4 separate regions of the Homo sapiens genome follow, and regions 2, 3 and 4 are each linked to region 1. The links are contacts of gene promoters, found by promoter capture Hi-C in blood cells and fetal thymus (Javierre and others, 2016). All regions are on one chromosome and are shown on one strand. Each heading gives the region's core, a stretch centred on a gene start or on the middle of the fragment in contact. The rest is flanking DNA. Distances are from core to core; before and after follow the strand shown.

What was found. The method cuts DNA at HindIII sites, captures the fragments that hold promoters and counts their contacts. A CHiCAGO score of 5 or more calls a contact.
Region 2: a contact is called between a fragment that was not itself captured here and the fragment with the promoter of SLC29A3 in region 1, in 2 of 17 cell types (naive B cells and total B cells). The highest score is 6.6, in naive B cells.
Region 3: a contact is called between a fragment that was not itself captured here and the fragment with the promoter of SLC29A3 in region 1, in 5 of 17 cell types (total CD4 T cells, total B cells, total CD8 T cells and 2 more). The highest score is 7.1, in total CD4 T cells.
Region 4: a contact is called between the fragment with the promoter of PSAP here and the fragment with the promoter of SLC29A3 in region 1, in 4 of 17 cell types (total CD8 T cells, naive CD4 T cells, naive B cells and 1 more). The highest score is 6.1, in total CD8 T cells.

What each region holds. Positions count from the first base shown.
Region 1 is chr10:71,317,540-71,320,552 of GRCh38, reverse strand. SLC29A3 (solute carrier family 29 member 3) reads right to left here and starts at 1,294. Exons shown (of 6, transcript NM_018344.6): 1 at 1,243-1,294. The coding sequence starts at 1,243. LOC124902445 (a long non-coding RNA gene) reads left to right here and starts at 890. Exons shown (of 2, transcript XR_007062183.1): 1 at 890-991; 2 at 1,649-2,584. RefSeq lists a silencer at 1,048-1,497. The HindIII fragment of the contact is 7,819 bases long and covers 1-3,013 here.
Region 2 is chr10:71,914,351-71,917,171 of GRCh38, reverse strand. No RefSeq gene overlaps it. Among named protein-coding and RNA genes, the nearest start is that of LINC03139, 38 kb to the right of the region's middle. The HindIII fragment of the contact is 1,385 bases long and covers 735-2,119 here.
Region 3 is chr10:71,829,862-71,832,709 of GRCh38, reverse strand. It overlaps PSAP (prosaposin), which reads left to right. Exons shown (of 14, transcript NM_002778.4): 3 at 790-864; 4 at 1,459-1,584. Among named protein-coding and RNA genes, the nearest start is that of PSAP, 20 kb to the left of the region's middle. The HindIII fragment of the contact is 4,261 bases long and covers 1-2,848 here.
Region 4 is chr10:71,849,722-71,852,513 of GRCh38, reverse strand. It overlaps PSAP (prosaposin), which reads left to right and starts at 1,263. Exons shown (of 14, transcript NM_002778.4): 1 at 1,263-1,332. The coding sequence starts at 1,293. RefSeq lists enhancers at 1,052-1,582, 1,583-2,113, 2,505-2,792. The HindIII fragment of the contact is 9,568 bases long and covers 1-2,792 here.

The DNA.
Region 1 (3,013 bases), core at 45-2,544:
CATGCACCCACTCATAGAGGAAAAGCCATGTGAAGGCACAGCAAGAAGGAGGCTGTCTGCAAGCCAGGAAGAGAGCCCTCATCAGAAACCAAATCAACCAGCACCTTGATCTTGCCCTTCCCAGCCTCCAGATCCATGAGAAACAAATTTTGTTTAAGCCACCCAGTCTATGCTATTTTGTCTGGCACAAAATGGTACAAATGTAACAAGCTCACTTGTTACATTTTAAAAATTAGTGTTTAAAATGTAAAAAATAATCATGACCCACCCACATAGAACAAGAGAGAACCGGCAAGTGGTTCTTTCCAGAGGCTCCAGCTACCTGTGGGGGCGGCTAGAAGGTCCACCAGCCCTGTCACTCAGGACCACACCTGGCTAGGGCCCCCTTCTCAGTTCCTAGCGTCTATTTGTCAAGGCTTGACTGAGCTTCTGAAGAAGGAGCCAGGAATTTTCTCTAACCAGGGTCACAGGCCAGGGCACTGGAGTGAGCAAAGTCTTATTAGTCTTTATAAAAGCTAGCTGCTGGCTTCTGGATTAAAAAATAAAGAGAAAGGCAGGCAAGGAAGTGCCCAACCTTCCCCAAAACAAGCTGGCTGTGGCCTGGAACGTGCTCCTGGGTCACCTGCGGGAGCCCGGCCATGCACAGACAGACAGCCCCACACAAGGAGGCAGGCACTGCTGGGGCCGCGGCAAAACCTCATCTGGGCTGGGAAGCCTGGGTGCTGGTTCCAAGGAGGTTCCTGACTCTGGCTAGGTGGCTCGCCCCTCTGTGCCTCGATCTCCTGGGCTGTGAACCGGGGTGGGGAGCTGGTAGGGCTAACCTGTGGGAAGGCACTGGGAAGCGCAGGGCACCGCCTACTGGCCGCGGCAGAACCGGCTTTGCGGTGTAAACAGCCCCAGCCTCAGGCCCCGCAGCTGGGACCGAGAGAATCAGCCACCGTCTGGATACTTCGGGCCGACGGGTCCATACCAGGCCCCCACCATACAGGCGGTGAGGTCCAGTCTCAGGGAGGAGGAGGGGAGAGGATTTGGGGAAGAGAAGATAGAGACCCAGAAAGAGGGGTGGCAGAGAGCAAGGAGAGAGAGGAGGGACGGTGGGGAAGGGACCACGGATGGGGTAGGGTCCTGCGGCTCCCCTGGCAGCCCGCAGCCGCCCCCAGGGCCCGGGAGGGAGGTCGCTGAGCGCGAGTCTGGGGGCGGCCGGGACCGTAGCCGGAAGAGCCCGAGCCGGCCCGCACTTACTGTCGCCGCTGCGCCACGCCGCCGCTGCCTCCGGCGCACGGCCAGGACCACTGGGCTTGGCAGGCGGCAGGCGGGCTCCTCCCCCGGCCCCGCCCCGCCCCTCGCGGCAGCACGCCGCCGCTTCCCCGTTTGCAAACACGCTTTTTTCCTTTGTCTTCTGCCGGCGCGCCGGGGCTCCCCCTTCTGGCGCTGAGCTGGGGCCTGCGTGCGCCCATTTTATAGGAGAAAAAGTGAGTCACCCAGTCTTAAACGCACTGCCCATGCTTGCGATGGGTGCGCTGCGCATCAGGCCTTTTGGTTGCTGCTCCTTCTTTACCTTGGAGCCAGACCCCACTGTCTCAGACCTCCCCTTTAGCTACTATAACCTGCACCCCAGGACTCAAAGGAGCCCTCATCTTGTCCCCAGGCCGCTGCAGAGACCCCTCTCCAAAGGCCGCTTCTACCCTTACCGGCTGCCGCTGCTCTGGAGGTGAAGCGGGACCCACACCCGGACTGAACTGGGCCTCCCAGGCCAGGCAGCTATTTTCAGTAGACCCAGAACATGGCAGTCAGCAATTCCAGCCCTCACACTTGACCTCAGCCATAGCGTGTAACACACAGCTGCCGCGTGTTCTTTAAGAAAGCAGGGGCCGGGCGCGGTGGCTCACGCCTGTAATCCCAGCACTTTGGGAGGCCGAAGCAGGCGGATCACCTGAGGTCGGGAGTTTGAGACCAGCCTGGCCAACATGGCGAAACCTCGTCTCTACTGAAAATACAAAAGTAGCCGGGCATGGTGGTGCGTGCCAGTGATCCCAGCTATGTGGGAGGCTGAGGCAGGAGAATCGCTTGAACCCGGGAGGCGGAGATTTCAGTGAACCGAGATGGTGCCACTGCACTCCAGCCTGGAGCCTGGGCGACAGAGCAAGACTCCATCTCAAAAAAAAAAAAAAAAAAAAAAAGGCGGAAACCTTCCTGACTCCCGGTCCTGGCCCAGTTGGCCTATTCAGAGCGGGGATCTGGATGCTTCACAGGGCCTGAAGATCTGTGACCATGGATAGTAAATTCTTGCAGTTGCCATCCCAGGGCTCAGGGGTGCCACAGAACCCATTGAGGCTGTCAGTGTGTGGACAGGTTCTCAGAACATCCCCACTCCCTGCCCCAGCCTCTCATTTTATAACCACCATTCCCCAAACACTGGCCTGATCATAAAAGTCTCGAGTACACATCCAGATTCTGGGGACCTCTCCCCAGGAGGGTTGCTGCCACTCCCCAATCCCTGAGGGTGGTGCTGTATCTGCTTTGTTTGCTCTTCCCTCATCGTGGGCACATAATTTGTGTTCAATAAATACCTGGATTAATACAACCCATCACTCAGGGGGTGCAGAATGGGGATCCAGAATGGATCTATTTAACAAGCTCCACCAGCAGGCGAGTTTGGAGACTAGCACCCTAAATTGTCAGAAAGCCCCCCGGCCCAGGAGAGGAAGGGGCTTAGCTCCAGGCTTACAAGCTGAGGGATAATGGTAAAATTACTAAACCTCTCTGAAACCCAGGGTCGGCTTAGGACTGTCGGGAGAATTAAGTCAGGTGATCCATGCCAGGCACTCAATGCAAATTTCCATCACTTCCAAGGAAGACACTCCCCACCCCCAAAATGTGATAGTGTATATGTTAGTTTAGTCATCAGGCCTTATTTTTAGCCTCTTTACGTTGGAAAAAAATCCTCTAATATACAGAGCATTTTCATGAACAGTCTCCCATTTGATTCCACCCCCCCACCCCAGTACCCAGT
Region 2 (2,821 bases), core at 178-2,677, 600 kb before region 1:
GAATACCAAGCAGAACAGGAGTTAATAGCATGGAATAATCTTTCTGACTTTTTGGTTAAAACATTGCTGATCCTTTGTTTTATTTTTCAGAGTCAAGAAAACTTTTAAGCTATTTACAGCTTGTAGCAATTGAATAAAATATATCCCTGTGAACAAAATTTGGAACATACCTGATTTCTCCAAAATTTGGAAGCTATTTGTGAGTATTCTTAATTTATGGCAAAATAGTAATTTACACAAGTGCAATAAGAATCTGTTTTCTTTTGCAACAGGACACAATTTGATAAATTGATTATTTTACCAAGGCTTTGACTGGAATGGTGTGCTTTCCTTTAAGGAATCAAATTTGACTTATAAAGTCAATAAAAGCCCCTTGGGAAAACTGGCCTCATATCTTGTCTACACAGTCCATTTGCAGGGTTCCTGACCTGTGGTAAGTAAAGAATGTCACTTTCTTTTTTTTCCTTTTTTTTTTTTTTTTTTTTGAGACAGAGTCAAGTTCTGTTGCCCAGGCTGAAGTGCAGTGGTATGATCTCGGCTCACTGAAAATTCTGCCTCCTGGGTTCAAGCAGTTCTCCTACCTCAGCCTCCCAGGTAGGGGCTGGGATTACAGGCATGCACCATCACACCCGGCTAATTTTGTATTTTTAGTAGAGACAGGGTTTCACCATGTTAGCCAGGTTGTTCTTGAACTCCTGACCTCAGGTGATCCGTCTGCCTCAGCCTTATAAGCTTGTTGGCTGCTTCTGATTGGTTAAGTTCAACTTCTGTTTTTCTTTAATATAAGCATTTACAAGAAATAGCTTAAGTTCAGTTTTACTTATGTTTGTAAATCAAGCAAGGCTTAGATCATTTATGATGCCGAACTGGTTTTATCTGCTCGGGGATTCTTCAGGCCTGACCTCCATTTCAATTTAACACATACTAGATTCCCTTCTTCCTAAGGAGCTAGGGCTTTATTTTGTGGATTCTGGAGGAGAGGTAGGATGGAAGCTGAGTTTTAGTGAAACAACCTTGACAGGCATATAAAGGACCCCTAGTGTCTTCCTTGAGGCATGACAGCATGTAGCCACATGATCAATCTAAGACAGGCTGCAGAGGAATTCTGCCTCTCTAAAGTGATGGTGCCCAAGAAACAGGGATGGGCTTTACTGAAGGCTGCCTCAGCACCTGAGCCACCGGCCCCCCATGCTGCTCCTCCAGCCTCAGGTTTTTTTTTTTTTTTTTTGAGACAGAGTCTTGCTCTGTCACCCAGGCTGGAGTGCAGTGGTACGATCTTGGCTTACTGCAACCTCCATCTCCCTGGTTCAAGTGGCTCTCCTGCCTCAGCCTCCTGAGTTCCTGGGATTACAGGTGTGTGCCACCATGCCCGGCTAATTTTCATATTTTTAGTAGAGACAGGGTTCCTCCATGTTGGTCAGGCTGGTCTCGAACTCTTGACCTCCAGTAATTCACCTGTCTTGGCCTCCCAAAGTACTAGGATTACAGGCCACCACGCCTGATCCGGCCTCACCTTTTTATAGCAAGCCCCACTCTCAGCACCAACTGGTCTCCTTTGAGAAGTGGTGGTACACTCATATTTCCAGGACGGCCAGATGCAATTTGATGGTGGAAGTGAGACGATTGCAAAAAATCCAAAGGCCCCAGACTCCCTCCCCCATTTTGACTCCACTGCACCAAGTTCTGACCCCTAATTTGCCGAAGAGACTTCTGGCCACAGAGCATCACCAAAATGCAAGTCAAAGGGGCCAACCTAAGGTCTGAAGGTCTGCCAGGGAATTATATAGTACAGGGGTGGCCAGACTCCCAAATTATAGGGCTGCCAGGCTAGCTGGTGATTGGGGTGGATAAAAATAAGCCCTGGCCAAGGTTGGGAGGTGAAGGGGCATCTCCTCTTGGAGAACAGGGCTGGCTACAGACGTGGCCTTAGCAGGACATGGGTGGCAGGGTCACGCCTCTCCCTCTGTCCTGCGTCTCTGCCATTGACAGTCACTTGTCCACAGACAATCAAAGATAGAGGATATAACATGTTAACATTAGTTACTTCTCTTTTCTTCCATCTTTGGGGACTAATTAAAAAACATCTTGGGAAAATATTTTGGGGCCCATTTATAAAGCTTACAATATTGTGTTTTATTCTTAGTATCTTTACTTTTAAAATATGCCATTCCATCTTTGTGAAAATACCAGGAAAAAAAAAATTAAAGTGTGCTAGAAGGGCCAGGCATGGTGGCTCGCGCCTGTAGTCCTAGCATTTTAGGAGGTGGCAACAGAGGGAGACCCCCTCTCTACACGAAAAAACATTAACCAGATGTGGTGGCTCCTGTTTGTAGTTTGTACTTGGAAGGCTGAGGTAGGAGGATCGCTTGAGCCTGGGAGGTCGAGGCTGAGGTGAGCCGAGATCACGTCACTGCACTCTAGTCTGGGTGACAGAGATACCCTGTGTCTGAAACAAAACAAGTAGAATGTGCCAGAAGGGCAGAATTGTGTTCAGAGCTGGCTACCATTGTGTGAAATGGATTGGGAGAAATATATTACTATCTTTTTATATAGAAGCATGGATTATGCCCAGAAGAATTATATAGAAATTAATATGCTAGTTGCTTCCAGGAAGGGGAATTGGGTGACTGGGGCCAGAGGTGGGTAGAAAATATTTATGTTTTTCTTTTGCTTACTGAAGAGGGTCTCAAAAGACTCTCAAAAAGTTGACGGGGTGTCATGGAGGCATGCCTTGGACACAGCAATTTCATTTCTAGAAATTTGTCCTCAGAGATAACTGGTGAAGTGCACAAAGATGCACAAAGGGGCTGGGCATGGTGGC
Region 3 (2,848 bases), core at 54-2,553, 510 kb before region 1:
CTGTTTCCACAAATGTTGAGGGCTGTCTGTGGAACTTGAGCATCCTGGGGTTTGGGTGTCCATGGGGGTCCTGGAATTGATACCCCCTCAGATACCAAAGGATGACTGTATTAGCCTGACTAGGTTCAAGTTGGTTTCTCTAAATGCAGCTAAGTTCATAGGTGTTCCTCAGTCTCACCCAGACATGTTTCTTCTCCATGGATGGAAAGTCAGTTGACATCAAGAAGGGAGCCTGGGCATTCTTCCCCAAGGGCCGCAGGAACCAATTAGAATTTCCATGGCCTCTGGTCCAGGTGGGGGCCTTGGTGCCAATCAGAAGATTGGCTTTGGTGTGGTCTTGCCTTGTTAACATGCCTGGGAGGCAGGGGATGCGCAGGTGAACGGTTCAGTGTGGGTGTGCCTTCAGAGGTGGGTGGGGCGTTTGTTTCTCTGTCCCACCCACCTCTCTGCCATACTGATGTGACTCTGATTTCACCTGAGCCTCAGTTTCCTCAGAGGTGTTGTGAGCATTGATGTGAAATTGACCTGTGCCACATGGGGTGCTGTGTGGGTATGAGCAAAGGTTCTGTGTCCTGTAACTCACAGTGTGTTCTGGTGAGTCACACCTCTTCCCTCCCTGCCGTGCCCCAGCGCTGCTCATGCAGGGTGGAGAACCAGGATGTGACAGGAGCGCGGTCATGATCATATCCCTGGTTAGAGAGAATAGCGAAAAGGCCATGGGGAGTTCCAGCTGTGTGGGGTGTGAATTTGTGTCCTGCAAATACAAATTTCTCGTATTCTTTCTCTTAGAAATCCCTTCCCTGCGACATATGCAAAGACGTTGTCACCGCAGCTGGTGATATGCTGAAGGACAATGCCACTGAGGTGAGCGGCGGTGAGTGGGGATGGTGCTTGAGCCACGGGCACGTGCACTGGTTCCTAAGAGAGCTGTGATTCCGGGTGTCTAAAGAGGAATGGTGTAGGCCTGAGGGTGGCAAATGTCTTCCACAAAGGATCAAGGAGAAAAGATTTTAGGGTATATGAGCCGTATACTGTCCCTGTCACACAGTCTCTTTTTAAAAATGTAAAAAGAATGTAAACACCATTCCTTGAGTTCTGGGTTGTACAGAAATAAGCTGAAGGGCCTACTTTGCTGACCCCGGGACTAAATGCCCAAAGTTAATTGAGATGTTGTATTGCATGCCACTAATACCTAGGTCCATTTTGGCCATCTCTGCTTAGAATTCCCTGTGCCTGCGAGACTGCAGGTCCAGGGATTTTCATTTTGAATGCTCATGTCTGCTTTTGCCTGATTGACCTAATAGAGCCATAGGTAACATGGCCAAGTCCTTTTCCCTGAGGGCTGGCTGTTTTCCAGGCTTGGTTTTTCTGGGAGCTATTGAGGGCCTCTTGCCTTCAGCCCATTTATTTCCAGGGAGGAAAGCCTATCGTGATTCTGACCCTGGTGTCCTCTCGTAGGAGGAGATCCTTGTTTACTTGGAGAAGACCTGTGACTGGCTTCCGAAACCGAACATGTCTGCTTCATGCAAGGAGATAGTGGACTCCTACCTCCCTGTCATCCTGGACATCATTAAAGGAGAAATGGTAAGTGATGGGGAATAGGCTTTTCCTTGAAGGTGCTTCTGGGGCCCAGGAGAGGCAGTGGCCCAGAGTAGATTGATTAAAATGGAAAGTCTGTTCTTAGCTCTGGAATTCCTCAACAGCATTTTGCTACAATTTGACATCCAGAATAGCTCCTTTGGCACAGCAGGCCACTCTGTATGTAACTTGCCCTGGGGTTAGCGAGGGTGCGGCTGCTGGGGACTGGTCGGACTGCTGAAGGAATGTAAACCGGCATAACCTTCAGAGATGTGAGTTGGATACATCATGTCCAATCTTTAACTGACCCCTTTGAGCAGGCACAAAACCTCACTTCTGTGAATTTATTTCTGTGAACTTATAATCAAGGAATAATTCAGGGAATGTATTGGGGTCTTTCATTCATCAAGTATGTATTGTACACAGACACAAACCCTGTGTCACAGACTGGGTTTTTAGCAAAGAACACGGAGCTAGCTTTGTGGAATTTGGAAAGGCCTTGACAAAGAAGAGGTGTTTAAGTAACTGAAGAGGGCCAGTGGGGCAGGACTTTCCCAAGACAGGACCAAGGTTCTGGTGAGGAAGGCAGGGGTTGTGTCATACACAGCCTCCTAGGCCATCTTCAAGGATTGCAAGTGCAGCCTTGGAGTGTCATGATTGTAAGGGCATTTGTCAAAGGGTTTGGTCTAGGTCTAGGTCCCATTGAGGGAAGCTGCAAGTCCGGAAGCTGACAGGACCCTCAGGAGGTCATTGCTTTGTGAGTGAGATGTGATGTGGACAGTGGAAATGGCAGATGCAGATTCTCTTTTGGAGGATTAAATGGACTGGACTTGCTCATGAGGGGGATGTATAGGAGAGGAAGAGCTATAAATGTCTCCCTGGTTTCTGAGAAGATAAAGGTGGAGTTATTTGCTAAAATGGAGCTAGTTGGGCAGGATAGAATGAGGGGTAAGTTTGAGATGTCTGCAGGGTGGGCATGATTACAGAAGTTAAACACTTGGGAGCCATCAGCATATGGAAGGTGTTGAAAGCCATCGTGTTAGCTCATTTTGTGGGGAAGTGACTTAGAATTGCTGACTCTTCTCCTCCAGCAAGAAGCTCCTATTCCTTTATTTATTTATTTATTTATTTTTTTGAGACTGAGTCTCACTCTGTCGCCCAGCCTGGAGTGCAATGGCGCGATCTTGACTGACAGCACCTCTGCCTTCCGGGTTCAAGTGATTCTCCCATCTCAGCCTCCCAAGTAGCTGGGATCACAGGCACCCACCAT
Region 4 (2,792 bases), core at 14-2,513, 530 kb before region 1:
GTTGTGTGACCTTGGATAAACGTCTTGCCCTCTCCTAGGCTCAATGTCCCTACAGGTAAATGACCTCTAAGTGCCTGCCCTAAGGGGCTAAGATTCCCCTCCTTTCCCTGCCTTGCGGTTGGCAGGTTCTTATCCTTCTGGAGAGGGTCATCATCATTCTCTGTTCAGGTCCTGGCAGGGGCAGCCACAGGCAGAGGGTCTTTGGGTCTTAATTTCTGAAGGCTTCCATGTCACATAAAACGTTGATTACATAAATTTGTTATGCTTTTCTCTTAAGCTGTCTCGTTACAGGAGTGTTGGTTGTGACTCTTATGATCTCTTATGATGGGTGAGGAATGGTATTACATCTTTAACGGTACCACAATGTGAGGCTTAAAAGTTTTTTGTTTTTTTTTTTTTGGTGATGGGAATCTCTCTCGCTCTGTGGTCCAGGCTGCAGTGCAGTAGTGCGATCTTGACTCACGGCAACCTCCACCTCCCGGGTTTAAGCAATTTTCCTGCCTCTGCCTCCTGAAATAGCTGGAACCACAGGCGAGCGCCACCACGCCTGACTAATTTTTGTATTTTTAGTAGAGACAGGGTTTCACCATATTGGCCAGGCTGGTCTTGAACTCCTGACCTCATGATCCGCCCGCCTCGGCCTCCCAAAGTGTTAGGATTACAGGAGTGAGCCAGCATGCCCAGCCCAGACTTGCCTTTGACCAGGTGCCACCACCTGCCCCCACGTGCCCCTGGCCAGGACTGAGCCCTGTACCCTGTTACACGACTACTTATTCTATGTGAAACCCCAAGCTATTCTATGTGAAACCCGCTACTACAATGGGCTAATTTTTTTGTATTTTTTTTTTTGTAGAGATGGGGTTTCACCACGTTGCCCAGGCTAGTCTTGAACCCTCCGCCCGCCTCGGCCTCCCAAGTGTTGGGATTACAGGCGTCAGCCACCGCGGCCGGCCAACAATGTGGAGATTTAAAAGGTATTTTACATATATAATCTCTGACCTATTCAATTAGTAGGGCTTTTCTTTTATGACCTTTCCCTTCCCTTTCTCCAAGTTCTTCCTCACTCCTCCCCATAGCCCTTCCTTTCGCCCCTCCCATTGCCCCCTCCTATTGGCCTCCCCTTCGCGCAGGCGCCCTCAGAGGCGCTGAGTCAGGGCGCTGTTGAGCTCGGGCAGGCCCGGATGGGGCGGGGTTAGCGCCTGCGCTCTGGACGGCTTTGGGGCAGGGCAGATTTATATCTGCGGGGGATCAGCTGACGCTCCGCATTGCAGACTGCGGAGTCAGACGGCGCTATGTACGCCCTCTTCCTCCTGGCCAGCCTCCTGGGCGCGGGTAAGCCCTGGGACCCTCATCCTGGGGAGGAGGTGCCTCGCAGCGTCCATCTGCCCCAGAATGGGCTGTGCCGGGCCTGGCCCCTCTGCTCCCCCTGCCCTAGTTGGCAAGGGGGCGCGCGCACTGCGCAGGCGCGTTCGCTGGCTTTCTCTGGCTTTCTCTGGGCGGCTGGGGGCTGCGGGGGGCGGGCTGCGAAAATGCCCCCGGGAGGACGGCCCAGGCCCTGGGCAGCATCTCCTTCGGGGCTCGAGTGGGTTCCTGCGCGGCTGGGGCCCCGAGGCCTTCCCTCAGGCTGCGCTTCCCACTGTGGGGGTGGGTGAGTCTTGTAGGGTGACCCCTTGGGCAGCTGTGTTGTGCCTGTGCTGGGCGCACGTGATCGAGGTGGGCTGGAGCCCCGTCCCGCAGGACACTTTGGCCGTTGGCTTCAGTTGCCTGTTTGTAAGGGTAGCGAAGCTGCAGGAAGCACATGTGTATCATCTATATTGACGTTTGCATATGTATTTACTCTGGATTCTAGGTGTTGACAAAACGAGTCAAACTCTGTAAAAATATTTTGAGATTTATTCTGAGGCAAATATGAGTGACCATGGCCCGTGACACAGCCCTCAGGAGGTCCTGAGAACATGTGCCTAAGGTGGTTGGGATACAGCTGGGTTTTACATATTTTCGGGAGGCACGAGACATCAATCAAATACATTTAAGAAATACGTTGGTTTGGTTCAGAAGGGCGAAACAACTCAAAGCGGCGGGGGGCTTCCAGGCCATAGGTAAATTTAAACATTTTCTAGTTGATAATTGGTTGAGTTTATCTGAAAACCTAGAATCAATAGAAAGAAAGTATTCAAGTTAAGATAAAGGATTGTGGAGACCAAGTTTTATTGTGCAGAGGAAGCTCTCAGGTAGCCGACTAAGAGAGCGAGCACGTTGTAAAATATTTCTATGGAAATGAAAGGGTGACTGGCTCTTAGTTGATTATCTCCTGGATCTGGAGAGGAAGGAAGGAAAACATAGGGGAAAGGGGATTCTCTATAGAATGTGGATTTTTCCCACAAGAGACTTTGCAGGGCAATTTCAAGGTATGGCAAGGAAATATATTTTGGGGTTAGATATTTTGATTTTTTTTTCCTTGTCTTATAAAATGTTATGCCAGAGTCAGATTGGAAAGTAAGTCACGATATATGGGGTCAAATAAAACCCATCTGATGAGAGTTTATGGTTTGTAGGGTATGATTCCTACACCCCTTAGATAGGAATTTGGGCAAGCTAAAAAAAATCGGAGCTTAATTCTCATAGGTATTGAAGGCGATATAGGGTTTTCTGGTCCAGTTATTTTGCCATGGGGTCCTCATTTCACTTGCTTTGAAATGTCTTGCATCTGGGTGCGGTGGCTTATGCCTGTAATCCCAGCACATTGGGACACCGAGGTGGGAGGATCGCTTGAGCCTAGGAGTTGGAGACCA